Regions from separate parts of the Homo sapiens genome. Here region 1 is linked to region 2. Evidence: promoter capture Hi-C in 16 types of primary human blood cells and fetal thymus (Javierre and others, 2016). All regions are on one chromosome and are shown on one strand. The core of a region is centred on a gene start or on the middle of the fragment in contact, and the rest is flanking DNA. Distances in the headings are between cores, read along the strand shown.

Evidence for each region. The method cuts DNA at HindIII sites, captures the fragments that hold promoters and counts their contacts. A CHiCAGO score of 5 or more calls a contact.
Region 1: a fragment that was not itself captured here is called in contact with the fragment with the promoter of TACO1 in region 2 in 1 of 17 cell types (M1 macrophages); the score reaches 5.2 in M1 macrophages.

What each region holds. Positions count from the first base shown.
Region 1 is chr17:63,070,732-63,073,431 of GRCh38, reverse strand. All of the region lies in intron 2 of TANC2 (tetratricopeptide repeat, ankyrin repeat and coiled-coil containing 2), which reads right to left. Among named protein-coding and RNA genes, the nearest start is that of TANC2, 110 kb to the right of the region's middle. The HindIII fragment of the contact is 1,695 bases long and covers 562-2,256 here.
Region 2 is chr17:63,599,475-63,602,174 of GRCh38, reverse strand. TACO1 (translational activator of cytochrome c oxidase I) reads right to left here and starts at 1,280. Exons shown (of 5, transcript NM_016360.4): 1 at 812-1,280. The coding sequence starts at 1,091. The HindIII fragment of the contact is 11,259 bases long and covers 1-1,936 here.

The DNA of each region.
Region 1 (2,700 bases), core at 160-2,659, 530 kb after region 2:
TTACCATGATTTTTAAAATTATATAGAAACAAATCCATTTCATTGTATACATCTTCTTTTAAGAAATAACCAAAACAGTATATTCCCTCATGCATGTTAAGAAAAGCTAAAACAAATTTTACTTTATTGTAAATAATTGCCTCAATTTTGTTATATAGAAACAGAAAAATTATGCATCATAAATTCATTAAAATAGGCACAGTAAAACAGAAATTAATATATTAAGAATGTAAAGTATAATATAAAATATGAAACTAAACCAAGCAAAATCTTTAACATAGTGGTCTATACACCTATAAATTTGTTATCACTTTAATCAGATGAAAAATGCATTAAGGCATCAAACAATTTCCTTTGTTCGTTCTTTCATACAATCACTTGTCTTATTTTTAACTTGACAGGGAAAAGGGGTAGTAGCTGCAAGCAGGTTTAATAAAGAGTATTCTTGCTCTGTCATCTACTTATTCTATGGTTTATTGTTTTTAATAGAGCTCGTGTAGTAACATCTATTGCTTTTTAAACAGAATGGCCTGTTTTTTAATTCATTATTGATATAAAGCTTCCTTTTAAGTATATTTATTATATGTAAGGCCTAGCAATAATTAAATCCAATTCATGTATATATATCAACTATTCTCTATTTTGTAGAGGGCTGTTAAACTAGCAAGTACAGTAACATTTAATCAATCGATTCCAAATATACGACGACAATACAAAATAATAAGTACATTGCCAGGAAATATTCATATCTCTTAGTCCACAGTAATCTAGTAAAACACTCCACTAATTTAGTCAGATTTGTAAAATAACTTATCACATAGAAAGATACTCAAAGTGATAGGCAACCATATTTTTTCCTCCAGTATGAAAATACTTTTTAAATATAAATCAGTTTATTTTAGTTCTGCTGTTACTATATAAGTTACCACATTTGAATAAAAATAGACATGTTGACAAAATAAGGTGTTATCTGAAAGACAAATATAAGAAATTTTTCTTTGACATTATTTTTAAAAATTAAAGCAAAAATCTACTCATGGATTATCATCTCTGAATGGCTGATCTGCCTCTGTTGAAATTAAAACTTAAATTCTTTAATTTTGTCCTTTTAAAGGAAATGTGAACATTTACAATCCTTCTTAACTGTATATCAAATTCTAAGTAAACAACTCTATAAATATGGATTCTTTTTAATAAGGCTCAGTATTTCAACTGGGCCAACTCAAATTTAATTTCTAAGTTTTAAACCCTCTAGGATTCCTTCTACCTCACTCTCTTGTGAATTAATATTCAATATGTCCAAAAATCCTAAAGTTTTCTCTTCTTTCTAAAATGTATTTAAGAACAGAAAGGCAGCCAATAATTACTATGTACTCTCTGCCAGGTATTTTACATAGTTCATCAAAGCCCTATGAAGTAAAGACCTATTTCACAGCTGAGAACACTGAAACTCATGGTGACTAACTGAAATCCAATGACAAAACCAGTAAAAATGAAACTGGATTTTAACCCAAGGATGTTTGACTCAATACATCTCTCTGATACTAATTTCTACCCAAATTTATTAAATATTTTGAGTTCAATTCATGTTCCCGTTTTATTCTTTTCTCATAAAAACGATGTTAAAAAAGCACTAATCAGTAACTATAGCAATTATTCCTTTACAGAATAGAGGCATTCTAACAAAGCAGGTTATGAAGACTTAGTCTTACAATATAACCTTCCTATGTGCTTCCAATATAAAATCAAAAGATATATTCTCTAAAGAAAAAAAAATGTTTTTCCCAAAAGCCATGTTTGGTGTCTCTGTCTATTCATTCTACTAAAAGAGAGCTTCTCTTGACAATCAACTGGCCACAACCAAAATAAAGTACCTCAGTAGGAATTCTGGTACACTGCCAACCCTATAACCCTCCCTCTCCAGGTCTATATTACTGCTCCTTTCTAATGAAGACCACTATTTAAGAAATTCTAGGGCTGAGCAAAATGATTCACACCTGTAATCCCAGCACTTTGGGAGCCCAAGGTGGGAGGATCGCTTGAGGCCAGGAATTTGAGGTTACAATGAGCTATGCTATGATCACACCACCACACTCCAATTAGGTGACAAGGGGAGACCTTGACTCTTTAAAAAAAAAAATTCTACACTCTATTAAGAAAATTTGGCACCTGACATTCTGTATACCCATGCTTAGGTAACTAAAGTCCCTATCATGCATCTATTCCCCACATCTATGAAATCTATCACAGCAAGCTTAGGTATACATGCTTTACAAGGAATTCAAGAAAAAAGCTGCTCTAACAAGAAAAGAAGTAAGTAAAAGTAGTTCTTTCTAAATGCTTACAGTGTGAAAATACGATACATTTTCTTTTTAGTGAAAAGGTCAATGCTCATGACACTGATATATGAATTACTCTTATCAAATCAACCACTTGAGATGGAAACATTTTTAACTCACCTATAGTGAGGCACAATGTTAACCTGCATGTGCTGTCATAGAAATTACATTGTGAGAAACAACTAAGAACCCTGACCTGCTTAATGTTTTTTAAAAAAATCTTTAAACACATTTACCTAGAATAATTTGCATTTTAAAAAGATACCCCTTATAGTAGTGTAGAGACTAGGGTGGTGGTTTTCGATACTGGATGAACAAACACATGTGGTTCTACTCTAATAAAATTTTCTTTATGGACACT
Region 2 (2,700 bases), core at 31-2,530:
AATTCTCCTGCTTCAGCCTCCCGAGTAGCCAGCATTACAGGCATGCACCACCATGCCCAGCTGTTTTTTTTTTTTTTTTTTTTTGTTATTTTTAGTAGACACAGGGTTTCCCCATGTTGGCCAGGCTAGTCCTGAACTCCTGACCTCAAGTGATCTGCCTGCCTCTGGCCTGGGATTACAGGCTGTGCCACTGCGCCCAGTCCAAAGTCCATGCTTTCTACAGGACTTTTCCTTTGCTCCTACAGATGTCTGGCCCTAAACAGAAAAAAAGCCTTTTCAGTGTGGCGACCTAAGGGAGAAAAGACATGGCTGCAAATCTACCTTCCAAGGAAATGTGTCTTGGGGAAACATTAATGAAGCAAACTAAGGCCTAAGCTAAGGCCTAAGCACTTAAGTAATAGCTTTACTCAGTGCCCCTGCCACAACCAATAAGGTACTTGAGGCGACTTCAGAGGGGTTGATTTGTCTCTTCAGGAGAGACACACATCTGCCCTGACTCTTAGGGCTTGTTTCTATTAAGTACCCAGCTAGATTAGGATGAAGTCACTTCTACCTTACCGGCTTATCTTCTTAAGAGCAGCTCCCTCTCTGACAAACTGGCCAGATGCTCAGCGTCTGGAAAAGTGAGTGAGAACCTCCAACGTAGGGTAGGTGTTTTGAGGATTTATGAGGTGGGCAATGGTGGGTACTGGGGAAGGAAAACAAAGTGAAGGGCCGGAGATCTAGGTGGGCCCAATTCCGAGAGGCAAGCGAGGCTGCGGGCACTGAGAGGGCAGCGGCAGCCAGTGCTGGGTGACCGTCAGGGTCTCACCTTTCACTGCCAGGCGGATGTTCAAACAGAGTTTGGAGAAGATGCGACTCCTTTCGACGTCCTTCGGACCCTTGATGTGCCTGACTTTGGACCACTTGTTGTGCCCGGCGGGGACAGCCGCGGTAAAGTGCAGCGTCCTGCCCGGAGCGGCACCGCAGCCCCGGGGCTCGGGGTGGGAGGGCCGGGGGTCGCGCGGAGGAGCCGCCCTGACCCCGGGGCCTCGTGCCAGCAAGCATCGGGCAGCGGCCCTGCTTAGGCTGGCAGCAGCCCAAGCCGACATCGGTCCCGACCCTGGGGTTCAAGCTGCTAGCAGCAGCGGCCAACGCCGGCGCGTCTCTTCCACTGCCGGAACAAGCAGTTCCGGACCCCGCGGCCGCCTGTGCCGGTCACCTGAGATCCAAAGGCTTGGGCCCGCCCGGGGCGGCTCAACAGCTAATGACCCTACACTGTCCCCGCGGCACCCGGGACTGGGGGCCCTTGATGGCGTAGCACACTTCCTTTACCGGGTTCGCTCCAAAAACACGTCCCCACTGCCCGCAAAGTCCGTTCCGTGGCTGCACGGTACTCGCTCCTCTCTTGCCCTTGAGCAGATCTAGTTAGTGCTCAAGCCCTCACGGTTGCCTAGAGAGCGCCGGACTTTGTTTCTCATAATGTTTTAGTGGAGACACATCTGAGTTATGAAACTGACTTTGCTTCCAAATTGCTGCCTAAATCTGAGCAAGTCCAGAATGATATTTTGTTGTTGCCTCATTGTACTGGGAAAGAAACTGCTGCCAGAGAAGTGAATTGCCCAAATGTTTAATCTCTCTGAACGTCTTCCCTATTTATAAATAAGGATCTAATATTTGCTTTATCAACATAGGAAAGTTAGAAACACAAAATGAGCCCTTAGAGCTTTAAAGTAATAAAGTTTTATGTAAATAGCCACAGTGCACTTAAGCCCCTAGATGCAAGAGATGGTTTGGGACAGACTCAGATGAGTCACAGGCCTTTGGGAGAGGGAGAATGATCAGACAAGCCCTTTGGAGCTAAACTCCCCTCTTCATTTTCTCTCTGCTGTCTCGAAAGAGAAAACCGAATCCGTTAGAAGATGGAGAGAAACAAAGCGGCAGCTGCTGAAAAGCTTTGTAGTGACTCCCATGCTGGTGAGATTAAGTCCAAAGGGCATGACATATCAGGTAGAGAAGCAGGACAGCCGGGCGCGGTGGCTCACGCCTGTAATCCCAGCACTTTGGGAGGCTGAGGCAGACGGATCGCTAGGTCAGGAGTGCCAGACCAGTCTGACCAACATGGTGAAACCCCGTCTCTACTAAAAATACAAAAAAATTAGCCGGCCGTGGTGGCGCGCGCCTGTAATGCCAGCTACTCAGAAGGATGAGGCAGGAGAATCGCTTGAACCCGGGAAGAGGAGGTTGCAGTGAGCCGAGATCGCGCCACTGCACTCCAGCCTGTGCGACAGAGCGAGAATCCAACTCAAAAAAAAAAAAAAAAAAGAGAGAGAGAGAGAGAGAGAAGCAGGACAGTGTGAAGTCCAAGTTTGTGCCCTCTGCAGTTAGACTGGGTGGCTTCAAACCCTGGTTGTTCCATTTTCTAGTGTATCCTTGGGCAAGTTCCTTTACTTTCCTGTTTCAGTTTCCTTACCATAGAATGGCCTTGTGAGGACTAAATGGGATAATGGATGCAAAGCACAAAAGCATAGATTTTTTATTTTTTATTATATAAGAACCTCCATGGGGCTGGGTGCGGTGGCTCACGCCTGTAATCCTAGCACTTTGGGAGGCCGAGGCTGGCAGATCACTTGAGGTCAGGAGTTCAAGACCAGCCTGGTCAACATGGTGAAACCCCGTCTCTACTAAAAATACAAAAATTAGCCAGGTGCGGTGGGTGCC